Regions from separate parts of the Homo sapiens genome. Here all the other regions are linked to region 3. Evidence: promoter capture Hi-C in 16 types of primary human blood cells and fetal thymus (Javierre and others, 2016). All regions are on one chromosome and are shown on one strand. The core of a region is centred on a gene start or on the middle of the fragment in contact, and the rest is flanking DNA. Distances in the headings are between cores, read along the strand shown.

Region 1 (3,986 bases), core at 165-2,664, 560 kb before region 3:
ATTAAAAATACAAAAATTAGCCTGACATGGTGGCGCATGCCTGTAATCCCAGCTACCTGGGAGGCTGAGGCATGAGAATCACTTGAACCTGAGAGGCAGAGGTTACAGTGAGCTGAGATGGTGGCCAGTGCACTCCAGCCTGGGTGATAGAGTGAGACTCCATCTCAAAAATAAATAAATAAATAAATAAATAGAAAAAAGAAACACATCAATAGAAACATAGATATGAATAGGAAATTCACAAAAAATACACTTACCAAGTTAAATCAACCTTAAGTAAAAAATTCGTTCAAGATTGTAAAGTGAACTGTTAACATTTACTTCTCTTTCCTCCCTAAGTCCAACTGGAACTACATTTTTTAAATGAAAAAAAGTAAAGTATGCAACCTCATGAGAGAACTTGAAAAAAAAAAAGTAAAAAGGAAAAATATCCAAAGCAAAAAAAAAAAAAAAAAAAAAGCATTCCAAAGCAGTGCTGGAATACGAGGAGGGGTTTACAGTATACTTCTTTGGACCTGACGCCTAGCACTTTTCCCTTCTGAGAGAAAATCTGCCATCCCCACTTTAGTCGCCTGGTTCATGTGGGAAACTGAGGCTTAGAGACAGCAGAGCTGGGGAGTGGCAGCAGGATATTGTGGCAGGTGGTGGCAGTCGGGGACTTCAGGCTGTGGTCTCACACCGCCACACTGCCTTTCCCTTTTCTCACAGAGAACATTCAAATGGCTGTCTTTCTCTGGCAAGGTAGAAAGCCTCTCAAATAAGTAAGGAACATGCTTTGGTTAACAGCTAACGAGGCATTAGGTCTGGACAGGGAGACAAGCAGTGCAGCAGCCAAATCCCAGTGGACACTAGACACGAGGAAGAAAGCACGGTGCTGCCAGGGCAGGTCCTCCTCCCTCCTTCCTCCTTCCTCCATTAGGAGGATTCCTGAGCCTGCAAACCTGTTCCCTTTGTGCATCCTGGAGGGACAGCCCCTGCCCCATACCTTCCAATACCCTCACCAAACCAGATGAAGCTCACCCTCAAATTCCTGTGTGAAGTGAGAGACAAAAAAACCCCAAACCTGAAGTGTCTGAAATAAATGTCCAAATTATTTGAACAAAACCTGGGTAGGTAGAAACCAAAGGGTTTCACTTGAATGCTTGGCAGTAACGTCTCAACTGGTCTTTCCACCTGTGCTACAATCCACTGTGAAGTCCATTATTCCATTCTTGTACCAAGTCCCCTTCCACATTCCTTTCACTTCAGACATGTTTGCTGATGTTTACACCTCTCCATAGACTACCCAGCCTATCGTCGCATGCCCAAAGCTTTATTTCCCCAAACCTGCCCTGTGCCAGGGAAACTGCTCTCCAGTTCTCAGGATATTTATGCTATGTTCTCCCACCTCTTATGTCTATATTTTTTGTGGCTTCTTCCCTCTGCCTCAGATACCCCTTGGTAGTTCTACTGTTCTAAATCCTACCCCTATCCTATCCCTTCACTGCATCTCCAAGGCCATTTTCTCCACAAAGCTTTTCTTTAACACATGGGGCTGGTAGGTAAGCCATGAACATTTGTGGAACAAGGTAATCCTCCAAACAAGGGTGATTTTTCTTTCACTGAACCCTTCCCTCCCTTTGTGCTTCTTTTTGGAGCCTCACACTCTTCTGAATTTGTTGAATCCCCAACCAGCTGGAAATTCCCTAAGGCCCGAAACTGTTTCTGGCCTAGGCTGTGCTGATCTTCCTGGGACTAAGGGGTTTCCTGGGTCACAGATCTTCTGTGCTAAAACCAGGAAAGCCTCTGGTGACCCAGCATGTGTTGATCTCCCTAGTCTTGCCTGTCTTTGATTCCATGGATTATTAACAGAAACTATAATGTTGGGTTAATGTGTTGGCTTGGGCATGGCCTCCGAAACATGTTTTTTACATGTCTGCCACCAGCAGGCTCTAGATCCAGGAATGAGGCTTTTCCACTAAGGGAAAACTCCACGTGATCTAGGAAGAAAGTGAGGATATCCAACCAGATGATAAATTTCCTATCTGAAAGAGAAGGTCAACCCTGAAATAAGGAGGCTGAAGACCCTTAGAGAAGCCACAGAAGAGACTGGAAGAAGAGGGGTAGAGTTGCTTTTTTAATGGGGCTTCCAGCTCCTACTTTTCTTCCTGTCTGTAAGTCTCTGAGCTTCTGTTCCAGCTCTGTAAGGTTGGGGACGAGAATGCTCTCCCCACTGGACTGTTGAGAGTTCAATGAGGGGAAATGTGTGCATATACCAGGCCCCATGCTGGGTGCCCAGAGACGCTGCGCCTTCCTGGCATGCTTCTCTTCCCCATCGCTCAGCACCGCGTCCCTCACTCCCTCCACTCCCGATTCTCACTTCCTACTCACTGGCTTCTTCCTTCCCATCTTCCTCCAAACTTCCCATTTTCCACTATGTCTCTCTCACCGTATCTTTTTCACTTAAACAAAAATGGAATTCATAAAAACAGAGGCCAAAAGTCAGGATAAACCTGGAAAAATCACCAAGTACGCAAAGTTTTTCTTGCAAGGTTTGGTTTTTTCAAATGCCTTCTTTGTTTTCCTTGCCCATATCCTTCTTCGGAGAGTCAGGATTTGGGGTTTGCAGAGCTGTGTGGCAGTGGAATGTGGAATGTTCTCCTGAATCTCAGTCCCATGAAGAAAAGAGGCAAAAGTCCTGACATCTTTCCTGAGGATTGTCTGATTTAAAAGAGCTGATTCTCCCCAGGCAAATGACTTACCTTTGTTGTGCTGGGACAAGCTGAACAGGCAAGGAATAAACCTCCCTAGAACACACTGATTAGATTAGCCAGTGAGAACCACTGAAGACGCAGACATTAGATTAAAAAACAGAAAAATGAATGTTACTTTTACAGTGGCTATGAATAGACAAAGACTTTTTGGTTTGAAAATAGTTGGTGAGGCAATAGAGGAGGGGCTATGTTAATAGCAGAGATAGAAAAAACGAGAGGTGGATGGTTCCAACTGCAAGGTCCACCCTAAAGGAATTGGAGTCAGGGCCCAGGAGCCACAGGCCACTGCACTGGGGTAAGTAGAGTGGATTTTACATAAATAAAGTTACAGAGTGGTTGTAGGTTCTGGTTTGGAGATGTGAGTGAACCAACTGAATAGAATAGGCAGATTCCCCAGCCCACCAAGAGTCAGATGAGAATTTTATTGCTTTTTGCTAAAGGCCTGTACAAGACTTAGAGCAAAGATAAGGAGTAACCTGATTGTTGAAACTAATCTATAAGTATTCCAACATAGCAAAGGACAAGTAACGGAATGACGAGGTTTTCCTGTAGTAGTGTTGCGATTTTGTTCTGCTGTGTCCCCCTACTCCAGTTTCCTCTGTGAGGGGAGCGTGTAGTGTGTGCATATCTGTGGAATGTCAGACTTCTAAAGTCAGGGGCTGAGACCTATATCTAGTTAGACCTCTGTGCATATTCTTGAGCCATGGGAGTCTCAGTGGTTGATAGTACTTCACACTTCTTCCAGTTCAATAAGGGTTACCTATGGTGTCTCCTCTGAGTCTCCTAGGAGTCCAGAAAACATGAGACTTGTATAAGAATCCACACTTCAACTAAGCTTTCTGGCCCAAAGAAGGCATTGTTACCAAGGATCTGTTTCTTGAGGTCTTTAGGGAGTGAGAGGGAAGGAACGCATGAGGAACCAGAGCTAGTCCCCATCTCTCTCCCTAGAAGTGACAGACTGCATAGCTCTTATGTATCAGGAGTCCTGGAGATCAGCTGGCTTTCCTTAAAAAAGGGTCATCCAGCCGTGATGAAATCCTGACTTAGAAACCCAGTGCCCTTAGCTTTGTGGGCTTCTGTCCCTGAGAAATGGTGTTTTACCCTCCCTCCAAGCAGGCATCCCAGGATTTGGAATTCAGCTGTGAGCTCATGAGCTGATGGATGTTTCCAGGAGTACCCTGAAGACCACCCAGGTATGCTCTCCCCACCTCCTTTATTTTGGATGGACCAGTC
Region 2 (4,116 bases), core at 998-3,497, 700 kb before region 3:
TTAATGCTTTGGGAGGCCAAGGCAAGAGCATTGCTTGAGGCCAGGAGTTCGAGACCACCAGGGGCAACATAGCGAGACCACCCTAGGCAACACAGACTCCCATCTCTCCAAAAATTAAAAAATTTAGCTGAGCATGGTGGCATGCGCCTGTACTCCCAGCTACTTGGGAGGCTGAGGCAAGAGGATCGTTTGAGCCCAGGAGGTCAAGGCTGCAGTAAGCTGTGATAGCCACTGCATTCCAGCCAGCCTAGGCAATACAGTGAGAGACCCTGTCTCAAAAAATAAAATAGTGCATGTCTATAGTTTAAAAAGTGAAATAGAATATTATTTTATAAAACTAATGAAAAAACAGCACTTTGTTTGCCCTCACTCACCTCTGATTTCTATTTCACAGTAGTAACCTTCATCCATGTTTGCCTGTTTCTCCTAACATTTTCTTATATGTTTATGAATAAAGCCATTATACTTTTTCTTCCCCATTTTGCACATTTATCTATTCCTATGTGGAAGATGTCTGGTTTTTTGTTTTCCTGCTCAGTTTTCTCCTCTTTGCCCCGAATAGGGGTGTGGCTGTAGAGTTCAGTCCTTAACTCTCTGCTTTTCTCTCAGTATTCCTGCTTACCCACAGTGTCTTGCTGCTGTGAACTCCCGGGTTCAGTCTTTCTGGCTCCCAGAGTTCTTTTTTTTTTTCTAAGATGGGGTCTCACTGTCACCCAGGCTGGAGTGCAGTTATGTGATCTTGGCTCACTGCAACCTCCACCTCCTGGGCTCAAGCAATCCTCCCACCTCAGCCTCCTGAGTAGCTGGAACCACAGGTGGAAGCCACAATGCCCAGCTACTTTTTTTTTTTTTTTTTTTGAGAAGGTGTCTCACTCTGTCACCCAGGCTGGAGTGCAGTGGCGTGATCTCTACTCACTGCAACCTCCACCTCTCAGGTTCAAGTGATTCTCCTGCCTCAGCCTCCTGAGTGGCTGGGATTACAGGCGCCTGCCACCACGCCCAGCTAGTTTTTGTATTTTTAGTAGAGATGGGTTTCACCATGTTGGCCAGGCTGGTCTGGAACCCTTGACCTCAGGTGATCCACCCACCTCAGCCTCCCAAAGTGCTGGGATTATAGGTGTGAGCCACCACACCCGGCCAATGCCCAGCTACTTAAAAAAATTTTTTTTTTTGTAGAGACAAGGTTTTGCCATGTTGCCCAGGCTGGTCTTGAACCCTTTTTAAAAATCTTTTTAAAAAACTTTTTTGGGAGGCCAAGGTGGGTGGATCGCCTGAGGTCAGGAGTTCAAGACCAGCCTGCCCAACGTGGTGAAACCCCGTCTCTACTAAAAATACAAAAAAGTAGCCGGTATGGTGGCAGGTGCCTGTAATCCTAGCTACTTCTGAGGCTGAGGCAGGAGAATCGCTTGAACCTAGGAGGCGGAAGTTGCAGTGAGCCGAGATAGCGCCATTGCACTCCAGCCTGGGCAACAAGAACAAAAATTCTGTCTCAAAAAAAAAACAGAAAACAAAAAAATTTTTTGTCCAGGTGCAGTGGCTCACACCTGTAATCCCAGCACTTTGGGAAACCGAGGCAGGTGGATCATCTGAGGTTAGGAGATCAAGACCGGCCTGGCCAACATGGTGAAACCCTGTCTCTTCTAAAAATACAAAAATTAGCTGGACATTGTGGTGTACACCTGTAATCCCAGCTACTCGGGAGGCTGAGGCAGGAGAATCACTTGAATCCGGGAGGCGGAGGTTCCAGTGAGTCGAGAGCGTGCCATTGCATTCCAGCCTGGGCAACAGAGTGAGACTCAAAAAAAAAAAAGTATATATATATATTTTATTTATATTATATCTATATATATTTTATTTATATTATATCTATTTATATATATATATATTTTTTTTTTAATTAGAAGTTTGGCTCGTGACATAGCCCTCAGGAGATCTGAGAACATGTGCCCTGTTCTTGAACTCTTGAGCTCAAGCAATCCACCGCCTTGGCCTCCCAAAGTTCTGGGATTACAGGCATGAGCCTCCACACCCAGCCTGGCTCCCAGAGTTCTAGTTAAACATCTGCATTTGCCTGTTGGGCATTTCTACCTCAGTTTACTGCTGTCTACTTAAACTCAACATGCCCCAGAGCAGGCTCATCATGAGTACTGCACACAGTGACGGTCATAGAGCCCTGAGGAAGGAAGGCTATAGTGGGCATGTGGTTAAAGAACGCTCCATACATGGCCTATGGCTGGAGATGGTGGCTGGGAAGCCTCAGAGGAGTGGCTGGGGTTACTGGAAGTGGGCAGTTTGTAGATCCTTGTGGGGGTAGCAGAGAGGTGGCCTTACCAGAGCAGAGGTTCCTTTTGTGGGTATGTTCACTGGGGTTGGGTGTGGGGTAGGGTAGTAAGCAATTTGGCATCAAATTGTGGAGGGCATGAACACCAGCCCCAACAATTTGCGCTTTACCTCATAAGTGAGGGGGTGACATTTTAAGAGCAGAAGGGTGTAATCCCAGCATTTCGGGAGGCCGAGATGGGTGGATAACTTGAGGTCAGGAGTTTGTGACCAGCCTGGCCAACATGGTAAAACCCCATCTCTACTAAAAATACAAAAATTAGCCAGGCATGGTGACGGGTGCCTGTAATCCCAGCTGCTCAGAGGCTGAGGCATGAGAATCGGTTGAACCCAGGAGGCAGAGGTTGCAGTGATCTGAGATTGCGCAACTGCACTCCAGCCTGGGCAATAAGAGCGAAACTTGGTCTCAAAAAAAAAAAAAGAGGCATTGTGAGTTTTCTTCCTGTTTGGACTATAAGATCCCAGTGGGTGGGGGAGAGACTGTCACACACTCTGCACCTTGTATTCCCTCAGTGTTGAGTACAGAGGCTCCTAACAAAAGTCCGTTGACAAAAGGGCAATTTCCTTGACATAAATAAGGGAGGAGAAGGGGGCTTGCATTTACTGGAGAAGAGAGGAAGATTTTGGATTTAGACAGGTTGTCAGATGTGCCAGGAGCCATATGGGCTCCACTCCATGTCTGGCCGCCCCCAGGTCTATCCTGTCTTCAGGCTCCCTGGCATCTACCATTTCTTTACAGAGCAGCTGCCATTAACCACATTTACTGGGGTTCCTCTCCCTCAAGATGGGCTGTAGAGCAGAAACCAGCTTTATTGCTGTGTTCTCTCCCTCCAAAAACAACCTATCAAACCAAAGAAACAAACCCAGCATATAGGCCTTTTCTTGCTTTATGGGTTATATTGCTCTGGAGTGGGCTGTGAAGAATAATAATATATAATAATGCCTTTCAATGTAAGGACATTCCAAAACTTCCTGAGTCTCAGAACATTCAAATAGTCATTGCTTCTGGTTTACATACAGTTCTTGTCTTCCTTTTGTAGGTGATAACCAAAAGATCATTGTAGGCTGGGTGTAGTGGCTTAGTGGCTCACATCTGTAATCCCAGCACTTTGGCAGGCAGAGGCAGGCCGATCACCTGAGATCAGGAGTTTGAGACCAGCCTGACCAACATGGCAAAACCTTGTCTTTACTAAAAATACAAAAATTAGCTGGGTGTGGTGGTGCACTCCTGTAGTCCCACCTACTTGGGAGCCTGAGGCAGGAGAATCACTTGAACCCGGGAGGCAGAGGTTGCAGTGAGCCGAGATCACGCCACTGCACTCCAGTCTGGGCGACACAGCAAGACTCTGCCTCAAAAATAAAAGGTCGTTGTAATTCCCCTTTCTTCCCTCAATTTCTGCCCATTGCAGATCATACAATCCCTCTTTCTGGCATATGCTCTGTGTGTGTGTGTGTGTGTGTGTGTGTGTGTGTGTGTGTGTGTGTGTGTGTGTGTGTGTTGCGGGGGTGGGGGCAGGGTATGTCTTTCTTTTTCCTTAAAGCTCTTGTATAGTAAAATTAACCTCAAGGATTTTCCATCTTTTGAACCAAGCTGGGGAGAGCAAGGTAATCCTAGGGCAATTGTTCATAATTTGGGTCCAGACCTCTTGGAAAACCCAATGACAACTATGGCATTGCTCCTCAAAAAATGGCCAGGCATACACAACTATGCAACAATTCTGGGGTTTTATGGATGTCAAGTTGGACATAGAGCTCCTTAGATATAGAGGATCATCA
Region 3 (3,847 bases), core at 851-3,350:
ACCCTGGACTACAGGTATGAGCCACCACGCCCAGCTAATTTCTGTATTTTTAGTAGAGATAGGATTTTACCATGTTGGCCAGGTTGATCTCTAACTCCTGACCTCAAGTGACCTGCCCGCCTCGGCCTCCCAAAGTGCTGGAATTACAGGCATGAGCCACCATGCCCGGCCACAATATTTTACAATTTAATGTCAAATTTGAATGTGGGCTGGGCGCAGGGGCTCACGCCTGTCATCCCAGCACTTTGGGAGGCCGAAGAGAGCAGATGACTTGAGGTCAGGAGTTCAAGACCAGCCTGGCCAACTTGGTGAAACCTTGTCTTTACTAAAAATACAAAAATTAGCCGGGCATGGTGGCACACGCCTGTAGTCGCAGCTACTCAAGAGGCTGAGGCAGGAGAATTGCTTGAACCCAGGAGGCAGAGGTTGCAGTGAGCTGAGATCGCGCCACTGCACTCTAGCCTGGGTGACAGAGAGAGACTCCATCTCAACAACAACAACAACAAATAATTAAATGTTCCTAATTGTAGGTTTGTTATGTTCTGCTATCCTGTCTTTTTCTTTTTCCAATGAACAATTTATGAATATTGACACATTTTTAATGATGTGGAAATTTTCAGAATTGTAAATGTTTATGTATTTAAAACTGGTTGGAAAAGTACTGTCTCAAAAATGTTAATAAAGCTAGCAGTCTAGCTTTATTAATATTCATTTATTCAATAGCTCTGACCTTTCTTATCCTTGGTTTACCCAGCTCTGAAATGGTTGCAAAGATTACTAAAAATATATGTAAGTTACTTTCATAAATTAGAAACTAAGAAGTAAAAATTACTTTCAAAAATCTGCCATTGGCCAGGTGCGGTGGCTCAAGCCTGTAATCCCAGCACTTTCGGAGGTCGAGGAGTGCTGATCATGAGGTCAAGACATCGAGACCATCCTGGCCAACATGGAGAAACCCTGTCTCTACTAAAATACAAAAAATTGGCTGGGAGTCGTGGCATGCACCTGTAGTCCCAGCTACTCAGGAGGTTGAGGCAGGGAGAATTGCTTGAACCCGGGAGGCGGAGGTTGCAGTGAGCTGAGATGGCACCACTGCACTCCAGCCTGGTGGCAGAGTGAGACTGGGTCTCAAAAAAAAAAAAAAAAAGTCTGCAATCATAATTACTTACAGTTTAATCTGGAATTTAGTACTCTATTCTATTTTCAAAGCTGCTATAGGGTATGCTGTCCTTTGTAGTTCCACTTTTAGCAGAATTGAACGTTTTTCTAACGGGTACAGATCTTTATGCTTGAGACTGTGTGGAAACCTTGGACTTGAGCTCCACTCTCAGTTATTTTTTGTATTTGCTAAAACTTAAATACATTCTGTCCACCTCTAGCATGATACCTGGTATGTGATAGGAACCCAATAAAAGTTTGGCTTTGATGGGAGTGTATGTTTCTACATTATTTTTGGAGGGTAATTAGGTAGTATCTTTCCAAATTTTAAGTTTGTATGTGTTTCATTCCAGACATTCTACTTCTAGGAATTTAGATATAGTTGTATATATGTATAAGGATGTTCACATTGCAGCATTGTCTGTAACAAGATTTGAAAAGAACCTGAAAACAACTAAAGGTCCATTAATATTGAACTGGCTAAATACGTTATGGTACTTTTAATTATGTTACTCATAAGCAAGTAAATTGCCTATAGCCATTAAAAATAGAATCTATGTATGCATAAATTGACTGGGATAATCAGTGTTTAAGGTATACTGTAGAATATGTACAGTTACTCCTTTTGTATAAAAATAGAGGATATACATATATGTGAAAGTAAATATGTATACAAAATATGCAAAATGTGAATGTAAGCGCTGGTAAATATCTAGAAGAACACACAAGGAACCGGGGCGTGGGGCGGATCGGGCAGAGGGACTTCCCTGTGCCTCACTGTTTGAATTCTGAAGGGTGCATACACGCCCTTATTGACCTGTGCTACTGGCCTCTGGCTAAAGAGGGCGCTGTAGCCACCAAAGTCCTGTTTACAGATCAGGAGTCTCAGTAAGCCAGCGTGGCTACGCCATCACGACCGGCGGTGGCACATGCGCAATAGCGAGACGCTGGAGCGCGGCGTAGGTGGCTGCCGAGTCTTTTCCTGTTTAGGGTCTTATCCTGGCATTGAGGGCGCCGGACTGGCGCTTTTGGCCGACTTGGCATTGGGTGGGCGGCTTCTTGGGACCCACATGAGCCAGTGGCATCATCCCCGCAGTGGCTGGGGCCGGAGACGCGACTTTTCAGGACGCTCCTCAGCCAAGAAGAAGGGCGGAAACCACATCCCCGAAAGGTAGTATGTCTTGGTCCCTTGGCGTGGCCTTTCCAGCTCGTGGCTTCTGGGTCTGGGCTTCATCGTTTGTGGTCTCTGCCTCTCGCCGTTGCCATCGCAAGCTTGACTTGTCCGCCGCTTGCTTTGAGGCTTTGACCCTCTGCGCCACCCGCTGTAGCTGAAAGGGGCGATGTCTGTGATGTCCTGTGATTTCTCCATATTCTTGTAAAAGGGAGGTTCTGGCCATTGCTCTTAGGTAAAATACGGAAGGATTGCTTTAAGGTGGGACTGTTACTGTTGGGGACACTCCTTAATTCCCAAAATGGAACCTCCTCAATTCCTTGTTACGTTGGCACGGAAAGTGTAATGGTTTGAGTTAGGAACCCAGCAGTAGTAGCGCCCTGAGATCTCACATGGAAAGTTGGTTTGTATTGTTTCCAGAAATCACAAAGAGCATACTTTGTTACTTCCTAACAGGCCTCATTTGAAAGATAACTCCTTTATACGTACAAATGATTAATTTTGAGACTTTGCACGTAGGTGCATTGAACTGTTTTTACTCCTTGAGACCATCCTCCACCATCTCATACCTCAATAAATCCTCTTCATTTTATCTACTATCTTTTGACTGTCACTTTCTGTCAGTACCCTAATACAGGTCTTGCCTGACTTATTGCAGTGGGGTTCTAATTAGTGAATCTCCTGTTTGTTTTCTTCCAATCCGTTTTTTTGTTTTTGTTTTTGGGATGGATTTTTGCTCTTCTCCGCCAGGCTGGAGTGCAATGGTCCAATCTCGGCTCACTGCAACCTCCGCCTCCCGGATTCAAGCGATTCTCCTCCCTCAGCCGCCCAAGTTGCTGGGATTACAGGCGCCCGCCACCACACCCGGCTAATTTTTTTTGTATTTTTAGTAGAGATGGGGTTTCACCATGTGGGTCAGGCTGGTCTCGAACTCCTGACCTCAGGTGATCCACCTGCCTCAGCCTCCCAAATTGCCGGGATTAACAGACGTGAGCCACCGCGCCCGGCCAGTTCCTAGCATTATTAAGTGAAGTTCACAGTCCCTCTTCTAGCAGGTTTTCTCTTAAAATATGAACTTGAAGTTTCCTACTAATTGAACTTTATGGCATCAGTCGTATGAAAACTAAAAGCGTGAAGTGAAATAATTGAATTTAAATTATTTCAGTGAATATGTTTGTATTAATGGCACTTTAGTATCTGGTACTGGGCCAAGTTTAACAGGGATACAGAAGTTCTGGGTATCTCCGGTTTTATATAGGCCTTATTTGAGTTGTACTGTTGTGTTGGCTTGTGTTCGTTTTTATGATGGGGAAACAGGAGAGAAGGACGGTATAGGTCGTTACTTGGTGGGGTTTAATAAGTGGAGTGGCGAAATGCAAAGCAGAGAGGAGAGAGGACATGTTGTGCGGGCTATGATTCCCATTTTCAAAAAGTCTTATTTTGTGCAAGGAAACAAGGCTAACATACAATTTGGCTAACAAAAAATATATCTAATAGGTGGAAAGACTATCTCCCAGT

Evidence for each region. The method cuts DNA at HindIII sites, captures the fragments that hold promoters and counts their contacts. A CHiCAGO score of 5 or more calls a contact.
Region 1: a contact is called between a fragment that was not itself captured here and the fragment with the promoter of DUSP11 in region 3, in 4 of 17 cell types (naive CD8 T cells, non-activated CD4 T cells, M0 macrophages and 1 more). The highest score is 6.4, in naive CD8 T cells.
Region 2: a contact is called between a fragment that was not itself captured here and the fragment with the promoter of DUSP11 in region 3, in 1 of 17 cell types (non-activated CD4 T cells). The highest score is 5.5, in non-activated CD4 T cells.

What each region holds. Positions count from the first base shown.
Region 1 is chr2:74,342,418-74,346,403 of GRCh38, reverse strand. SLC4A5 (solute carrier family 4 member 5) reads left to right here and starts at 2,988. Exons shown (of 31, transcript NM_133478.3): 1 at 2,988-3,048; 2 at 3,870-3,946. The HindIII fragment of the contact is 204 bases long and covers 1,313-1,516 here.
Region 2 is chr2:74,475,768-74,479,883 of GRCh38, reverse strand. All of the region lies in intron 5 of CCDC142 (coiled-coil domain containing 142), which reads left to right. Among named protein-coding and RNA genes, the nearest start is that of MRPL53, 5.1 kb to the right of the region's middle. The HindIII fragment of the contact is 6,387 bases long and covers 1-4,116 here.
Region 3 is chr2:73,778,356-73,782,202 of GRCh38, reverse strand. DUSP11 (dual specificity phosphatase 11) reads left to right here and starts at 2,100. Exons shown (of 9, transcript NM_003584.3): 1 at 2,100-2,329; 2 at 3,827-3,847. The coding sequence starts at 2,229. RefSeq lists enhancers at 2,129-2,198, 2,279-2,328, 2,459-2,608. The HindIII fragment of the contact is 6,659 bases long and covers 1-2,432 here.